Regions from separate parts of the Homo sapiens genome. Here regions 1 and 2 are each linked to region 3. The links are contacts of gene promoters, found by promoter capture Hi-C in human tissues and cell types (Jung and others, 2019). All regions are on one chromosome and are shown on one strand. Each heading gives the region's core, a stretch centred on a gene start or on the middle of the fragment in contact. The rest is flanking DNA. Distances are from core to core; before and after follow the strand shown. Region 1 has its middle 45 kb from the start of CASZ1. Region 2 overlaps CASZ1 (castor zinc finger 1). Region 3 holds the start of CASZ1 (castor zinc finger 1).

Evidence for each region. The method cuts DNA at HindIII sites, captures the fragments that hold promoters and counts their contacts. A contact is called where the count stands out against the background at its distance.
Region 1: a contact is called between a fragment that was not itself captured here and the fragment with the promoter of CASZ1 in region 3, in 2 of the 25 tissues and cell types used here (liver and neural progenitor cells).
Region 2: a fragment that was not itself captured here is called in contact with the fragment with the promoter of CASZ1 in region 3 in 9 of the 25 tissues and cell types used here (H1 embryonic stem cells, IMR-90 fibroblasts, dorsolateral prefrontal cortex and 6 more).

What each region holds. Positions count from the first base shown.
Region 1 is chr1:10,840,409-10,843,108 of GRCh38, forward strand. No RefSeq gene overlaps it. Among named protein-coding and RNA genes, the nearest start is that of CASZ1, 45 kb to the left of the region's middle. RefSeq lists an enhancer at 1-28. The HindIII fragment of the contact is 8,199 bases long and covers 1-2,700 here.
Region 2 is chr1:10,751,905-10,754,694 of GRCh38, forward strand. The region is part of intron 2 of CASZ1 (castor zinc finger 1); the gene reads right to left. Among named protein-coding and RNA genes, the nearest start is that of CASZ1, 43 kb to the right of the region's middle. The HindIII fragment of the contact is 6,133 bases long and covers 1-2,790 here.
Region 3 is chr1:10,795,376-10,798,122 of GRCh38, forward strand. It overlaps CASZ1 (castor zinc finger 1), which reads right to left and starts at 1,271. Exons shown (of 21, transcript NM_001079843.3): 1 at 1,189-1,271. The HindIII fragment of the contact is 29,932 bases long and covers 1-2,747 here.

The DNA.
Region 1 (2,700 bases), core at 103-2,602, 45 kb after region 3:
CTATGGCCCCTTTCCATTTGCCTTTTTGCTAAATTACGTAACCTCCCCCTAGAGTGAACAGCATGGCTTGACAACAATAGGGCTTTTGAAATGTCCTCTCTTCAGAAACACATTACACACATGTATGTGGAGACGTGAACATCTGTGTGACTGTATTATTGAGTGTATGCATATCTGTGTGTGCACATGTTATAAATGCACATGTAGGCCGGGCATGGTGGCTCACACCTGTAATCCCAGCACTTTGGGAGGCCGAGGTGGGCGAATCGCAAGGTCAGGAGATTGAAACCATCCTGGCTAACATGGTGAAATCCCATCTCTACTAAAAATACAAAAAAAAATTAGCCAGGCCTGGTGGTGGGCACCTGTAGCCCCAGCTACTTGGGAGGCTGAGGCAGGAGAATGGCATGAACCCAGGAGGTGGAGCTTGCAGTGAGCCGAGATCACGCCACTGCACTCCAGCCTGGGCGACAGAGCGAGACTCTGTCTCAAAAAATAAATAAATAAATAAAATAAATGCACATGTACATGTACCTTCCACGCACATTGACTGTAAACATGCTCATGTTAACAACCAAGGCTATTGCATACACAGGGGCACATGTGTGTTCCCATGTATCGTTTGCCCATGGGACTCCTGTGGGACTCCTGTGCAAGCTGTGTGCAGGCATGCATGGGAGATCTCCCCGATACAGTAGAGAGGTCACTACTAGAGTAGAGTGGGTGTCCAGAGGGTCCCGTGGGTACATGTGTGCCCCGGGCTGTATCTGCACACGTGTGTGAGTGCAGGGGGTGTGCGTGACTGTGCGCAGTAGGTGTGTGTACAGTACAGCATGTGTTTGCATATCGGGAGTTGGGGATGTTTAGTAATTAAATCCCTTTTCATCCTTCTGCACCTGTCTCCTGAAAGCTGAGAGAACAGACGTCAAACGGGACAAGGGCTGGATTGAATACAGCCAATTCTGAAATATTTATTAGCTTGCGACTCCGCTCAATGGAGGAGAAGGAATGCCAGCTAATCCACCCAGCAGTGCTCACAGCAGGGACGTTTTTCAACAGGGACTTCTTATATTTCAGCGACTGCCCACTCTGTCCAAAAATGAGAGCGTTTTCATCTGGGTCCATGCAGCATTCTCCAGAACTCTGGTTAGGCATTCACAGGGCAGAAATCAAACCTGAGCTCTTGTTTCTGGGTTCCTGGGGCCATGAAGTTCTCTTCCTCAGACAAAGACGGGTGAACCAGTAGGACCTGGGGTGGAGTGTACCGGTCACCGTTTATAGGACGCTTCCTGTGTTTCAGGCACCGTGTGTGGGCCTTTCCATACATCTTCTTCATCTAAGTCTTCACAAAACCCCAATGAGATAAATGCCGAGTATGACCCCATTTAATACAGTAGGGAGCTAGGAAACGCAGAAACATTCAACAAATGAGAAACAGAGGCCCCCAGTAATGACGCCACTTGCCTGAAGACATAAGCTACTTAGTGGTGGGGCCAGGATGTGAGTCCAGGGAATCAGCACTCCCAAGCTCAAACTCTCACCTTGCTGCCTCCTAATGGAACTATGATGGACCTACTATATGCACTGTGTGGAGAATTCTCGGGGTGCATCTAAGATCATTGAGAAAGAGTGGGGTGGCCCACTGTGGCAGGAGGAGACGGCTGTGTATTTGATGCCCCTCAGCCCTGCCCCACCCCACCCTACACCTGCTCATCACCAAGCCTGCCCTTTTTCTTTTTTTTTGAGATGGAGTCTCGCTCTGTTGCCCAGGCTGGAGTGCAGTGGTGCAATCTTGGCTCACTGCAATCTCCGCCTCCCGGGTTCAAGCGCTTCTCCTGCCTCAGCCTCCCAAGTAGCTGGGATTACAGGCACCTGCCACCACACCCAGGTAATTTTTGTATTTTTAGTAGAAATGGGGTTTTGCCATGTTGGCCAGGCTGGTTTGAACTCCTGACCTCAAGTGATCTGCCCTCCTTGGCCTCCCAAACTGCTGGGATTACAGGCGTGAGCCACAGTGCCTGGCCAAGCCTGCCCTTCTTATAAGTGCAGCTCAATTCCTCTAACTGCTCAGGTCAAAACCTTTAGACTCTCCTTTTACTTCCCTTTCTCTCTACCCTACATCCAAATGTAGGCAAATCCTGGTGTCGCTCCTTTCAGAAGGTACCCAGGATGCAACCACTGCTCATCCTCCCCACTGATGCGGCCCCGTCTGAGTCTCCATCATTTCTCCTTTGAGTGATTGCAGGGGCCTCCTTATGTCTCCCTACTTCCAATCTTACCCCCTACAGTCCAGAGTGGACCCTCTAGAACCTAACTCAGATGATCCTGCTTCTCTTCTCAGGGCCCTCCAATAACTTCTGTGTCACTCATTGTAGAAGTCAAAGTCCTTGCATTGACCACAAAGCCCAACCTCACTGACCTCGTCTCTACCCTCCTCCCAGCTCACCCCCGTGACCCTGGCTGGCCTCTGCTCCTCCTTGAACACAGCAGGCATGGTCTCTTTTCAGGGCAGAAATCAAAGCTGAGCACTTGTTTCTGGGCTCCTGGGGCCCAGTTCCGCAGGCAGAGACTGGCGAGCCAGTGGCTCATCATGGTGGCTCATACCGGTCACTGCTTATGGGGCCCTAGGAGCCCCAGGCTGCTCCCTCTGCCTGGAATCCCTTGTCCAGGTCCCCATGCAGCTGGTTCCCTCGCCTCCCT
Region 2 (2,790 bases), core at 177-2,676, 43 kb before region 3:
AGGCTGGACCTCCACCAGCTGGCAGCCCTAAGCTCTCTGTCCACAGGAACGGATCTAGGATGTGAGGGGTCACCAGAGGGAGCAGTAAGGACCCCATCAAGCTTTCCACTCCAGACTGGCCCTCCCCTCCCTGCCCGCAGTGACAGCCCAGGCAGGCCAGCACCCTGCAGGGCACACCCTCCCCAAGGAGCTAGCACGGGCTGCCCAGTTGGGGTGGGCATGGAGAGGGCAGCAGACGGGGATTCTTGCTCAGTGCCCAAAGGTCCTGGAACACAGAGGTGGCCCTGCATAGCAGGCTGTCGTCCCTGACCTTGTGCCTGGCCTGGTCCAGCCCCTCCTACACAGTGGGCCATCCCTGCCCACCTCTCCCTGGGCTCAGAACAGATGCCCTTAGCGGATGGTCATCTTTCCAAATTACCCCAGAAACTTCAGGTGGCCTCCTCTGGAGAGGCCCCTAGACTATTCCTAGATAGCAGCCTCACCAGGGAAGGCGGTCCTGGGGAATTGCTCCCCAGCCTGGTGGCCACAGATGTCCCTGTGGGGACTTAGACTCGATTCACCCAAGGGCCACCTGGGCCCAAATACAGGTTGGGAGACTCCAGCAAGTGGCCGGCGTTTGCCTCCATCCTCCTCTCCCTGTACTGTGGGAGTGGAGGTCATCGTGACCCCAGCCCTGCCTTGCTTGCAAAGTCCCCAGGCAGCTCCCCAGGGAGTGCTGGCTCTTCCAGAAGGAGGTCCCAGCTGCCCTGGAGAGGGAGCCCCCCTAGTTGCCAGCCCTCCCTGCTTAGGGCTGCCAGAGAAAATACAGTATGCCCAGTGAAATGTGAATTTCTAATAAACAATGAATACGGCCAGGTGCCGTGGCTCACGCCTGTAATTCCAGCACTTTGGGAGGCCAAGGTGGGTGGATCACCTGAGGTCAGGAGTTCGAGACCAGCCTGGCCAACATGGTGAAACCCCGACTCTACCAAAAATACAAAAAATTAGCTGGGTGTGGTGGCGGGTACCTGTAATCCCAGCTACTGGGGAGGCTGAGGAAAGAGACTCACTTGAACCTGAGAGGCGGAGGTTGCAGCAAGCCGAGATTGTGCCATTGCACTCCAGCCTGGGCAGCAAGACCAAAACTCCATCTCAAAAAACAAAACAAAACAAAACAAAAAACAATGAATACTATTTTCATATAAGTATGTCCCAAACATTGCATGGAATATACTTATACTAAAAAGTCCGTGCTATTTGTGTGAAATTTAAATGTACTAGGTATCCTGTATTTTTATTTGCTAACTCTGGCAGCCCCGTCCTGATGACTCAGCAGGTAGCCCCCGGCAGGGGGGTACAGTTCCTACGGGGTGAGCAGGACAGAAGAGGCAGTGAGGGGGAGTGGAGGTCCCTGTCCGTCTCAGGACAGCAGATTCTTTTCAAGAGGCTCTTCTCATCACTTTCTGCCCTGCCCAGCCTCCTCCCTCACCCGTCACTGCTGCACTGTCCAATACCACAGCTCACCTGCGGGGGTCCCCTCTCACTGCACCCCGCAAAGTCACCTCCATGTCCCCAAGGAGCACAGGGCTCATTTGCTGGGGCTTGGTGGAGCTCAGCTCAACGGCTAATCCCCTGGGTGGCTCCTGTCAGATTATTAATTAGCTAAAGCGGATCGGTCCTGGAACAACATGCGCTTGGACTTCAGATAAAGCAGGCCAGGGAGGCGGGTGGGGGTCTGCTTAAAGTGACAAGACCCTGTTTCTGAGCGGCTCCCCAGAAGGACCGGGGAAAGGAGGCCCAGGCTAGAGCAGGGCAAGTTCCAGACAGACCCCTCTGTGCCCTCTCTGCCCGCTCCCAGATGAAACATCGAGAGAGTGCATTCAAGAAGGGCGATCCGGGCACATATGCGACCTGTGAGAGGCGGAGTCGGTGACAGGTGGGTCTTGTTTTTTAATAAAGAGCTTGTTCCTAATCAGATCATGGCACTCAGAACTCTTCAAAAAGCTTCTTATTTCACTCTGGGTAAAAGCCAGAGTTCTCACAATGGCCTGCAAGGCCTACGGGATCTGAGGGCCCCCCACCCTGACCCCCTCGACTTCAGATGGCATCTGCCCCTCACTCTGCTCTAGCCACGCTGGTCTCCTTGCTTCTCCAACACGCCTCTGGGATCTCACACCTGCTATGAATGCTCTTCCTACAGATATCGATTAGGTTGGCTCACTCCCTCACTTCCTTTCTGTCTTCACCCAAATGTCACCATCGCAGTGACCCCTTCCCTGGGAGCCACATCTAAAATGACAAACCATCCATCCACCTGCCTCTCACTCCCTATTCTAGTCTGCAAAGAGGCTCTTGTTTTCTCCTTCCCACGCATCGCCATCCAGCACATCCTTTATTCCTTTTTCTCCTGTATCATTTGGCTCCCTCCATCCGAATGTAAACCTCATGAGGGCAGGACGTTGGCCTCTTCTTCATTTCGAGCACCTACAATGACTACCCACAGTGTCGCTGAATGGAAATGGAAAATGAATAGCCAGAGGTGACAGGTCAGGACTTGGACCACCACCTCTTCCGGCTCTGAACCCCTGAGGCTGAGCCCTGGCCCAACCCAGTGGGCTCCTCAAGCATCCAGTTCCTCTCCCCTGACCCTACTGGACCCCAGGCTTCCTCAGTCCTGCCCCCTAAACCAGGTGCTCCTCACACCCTCGTCCTAAGCATTTTCACTAGGATGCATTTCCAGGGTCTTTGGAGGGGTGCCCGAGGGGACCCATCTCTGTGTCACCAGACCTCCTCCCCGCAGCTGGGACCGAT
Region 3 (2,747 bases), core at 21-2,520:
CAGCCCTGTGCCCTTGGATTCAGGGCTCCTCCTCCCCAATTGTTGAGCTCCGAGGTCACCCTCAGCCCACCCTGGGGGAACAGACCCCGACCGACCCTCTCCCACGCTGCAGAGCCCCCCCGGAGCGCACCACTCTACCAGCCCGCTAGCCCGCCAGCCCAGCGTCCCACGTCCCCGGGCGCAACTTCTCTTCTGGCGCACACAACAGCCGGCAACAACTCGCCCGAACTTTCCCCGGGACCCAGGCGGGCTCCAGCCGACAGCCGGGCAGCTCTGGGCCGATGCCCCGGCTCCCCGTGCCCTGTGTTGCCAGCCCTTCAGCTGGGGAGGCAGGGGGTGGGGTGGGGAAGGGAGTGAGGAACGCCACTTGCCGCGCCTGGAGCAGCGCACTTGAGATAAACTTCCCAGGCACAGATGAAAAAGGGGGCGCCGCTCCCCCCATCTAAGAAATCTCTTGCCTTCGATTTCCTATGGGGGATACCCTTTGGCACCCCGCGCCTAAGCGAACACTGCCTACCTCTGCTGGCAGCACCTACACCCGGTATCCGGGCACAAGAGCCGGCTGGAGGGGTTCCCCACCCACCCCTTCCCATGGGCAAAGTCTTGCAAAGTCACCCCAGGCACCCCTCACCCCGCCTCCTTCTCTGCCCTGGAGAGCGCACGACCCCTCTGCTGCTGGGGGGTGGGGTGGGGTGGGGGTTTAAGGGGAAGGAGTGATTACCCGGTATTGGAGATCACCTGCCCCCCCGGGAGCCCACAGCGCGTGGGGCGCCCCCACCCTATTTGCAAAGTCCTGTGCTCGCGCCTGGCACCTCCCTCTCTTCTCCCCTACCCCGCCACCCCCTCAGTTGGAGTAAGCGACCCCCAGGAGGAGCAGCCCTCCCCTCCCCCGGAGCCGCGCGCCGGGCATTCCCCTGGCCACGGCAGGCAACGCGCCGCCCCGCGCCCGGGTGCCAGCCCTCCGTGCCCCCTGCCTCCGCACGGCCGGAGTTGGGTGGCAGCCGCCGATCGCAGGCTGGCTGGCTGGCTCGCTCGCTCGCTCGCTCGCCCGCTCCCTGCTGCAAGCGGCAGCCCCGGGGGTGGGGGGGGTGCACCGGGACAGGGGGAGAGACGGGGAGGCGCCCCGGGAGGCCCGCGGAGCTGGGGGACGTGGGGGGGCCGCGGCGGAGGGAGCGCCGAGTCTCTTACCTGCACTTGGGGCGGCTTTGGGTGACTTTCCAAGTCCGGGGGAAAAATGTGTGTGTGTTTGGGATGGAGCGCCGCGGGCGCGCATGCGCTGCCCAAAGTTGCCGGATCCCGGATTTTTCGCTCCCAGTCTCCGCTCTCGCCCGCTGTGATTATGGAATTCTCCGCGGCCGGGCGGGCGAGTGGGTGGCATGCAAAACCCGGGCCGGATCGCGGGGCCGGGCTCCGCTCCACCCTCACACCCCCAGACCTGCCCCTCCCGGATCCTTCCCACCCACCGCCCGGGCTGAGCTCAGCGTGTGCGCGCGGCGAGTCGCACGGCCTGCGGAGGAGCATCTGAGCGCTCGGCCCCCTTTTGCAGGTCCAGAGGCTTCTACACCCCCCCCCAGCTGAGTTGAGTTGAGGCTAGGGGAAAAGAGAGAAGGGATGGGGGGGGGGGTTACTTTCCACCTGTTCTGAACCCCGAGAGAGCCCGAGTTCGGTTCCCACTTTCGACAGAAGAACTGGCTCTTTTTTGCAAGTTAGAATGTTAGAACTGTGGAACCCAAAGGAACGAAATGTTCTCACTGTTTGATATCTGCTTTGCACTTATTCTTTGCAAGGGAGTTTTTCATTCAATCTATTGTGCAAGAAATAAATCCTTAAGTGAGCAAGATAGGCCGTGCAGAATGAACCTTACATGGAGGGGCTGGGGGGGGGGCAGATAATACACATTAAAACAAGTGGATAATGTTATTTCAGAGAGTGAAAGTATCCATGAAGAAAATAAACCAAGGCAATAGGCTAAAAAGTGTCTTGGGGGCCGGCATGGTGGTTTACGCCTGTAATCCCAGCACTTTGGGAGGCCGAGGCAGGAGCATCGGTTGAGCCCAGGAGTTCGAGACCAGCTTGGGCAACATAGCTAGACCTCATTTCTGACAAAACAAAACAAAGCAGTGTCTTGCGAGAGATAATCCCCTTGCCCCCAGATGGGGGGGAAGGGCCTTTTGAGGGGCACTTTCATACTTTATTGAAGAAACCCCCTTTTCTCCCATACCCAGACTTCCCATTTCCCAGTTGGTTTGAGGTGGCCACACCAGCTGAGCCTAGTAGTCAGCTTCAGTGCTGAGGCCCTGTAGCTCTGGTCTTGCCTTTCTCAGCAAGCGCACCCCTCATTCCAGGCCTGAGCTGCTTTTCCCTTCAGCATAAGCGTGGGATGGAAATATCGAGAGGCATGAAAGAAACTGAAAACACCCAGATGATGAGATAAGTGAGAAACTGACCATAACAGTAAACGAAATAGATCAATGATTTGTGGAATAAATGAATATAAATTCAAAGTATGACCCACAGCTTCAAGCCCTGCTCAACAGAATGCATTAAACTAAGAGGCAATGCCACAGGCTGGTAAACATTGTTGCAGGCTGGTAGTATTTGGAGCCTAATCTGCAAGGTGTCAGGAAAGCCTCTCAGGACCAGAGAAACGACCCAAAACCCTGTATGATGATTGTCTAAGACAAGCATCTTCCGGGATGCATTCCCATGTCCTGCCTTAAACTGGAAGTTAATTGTCCAGAAGCATA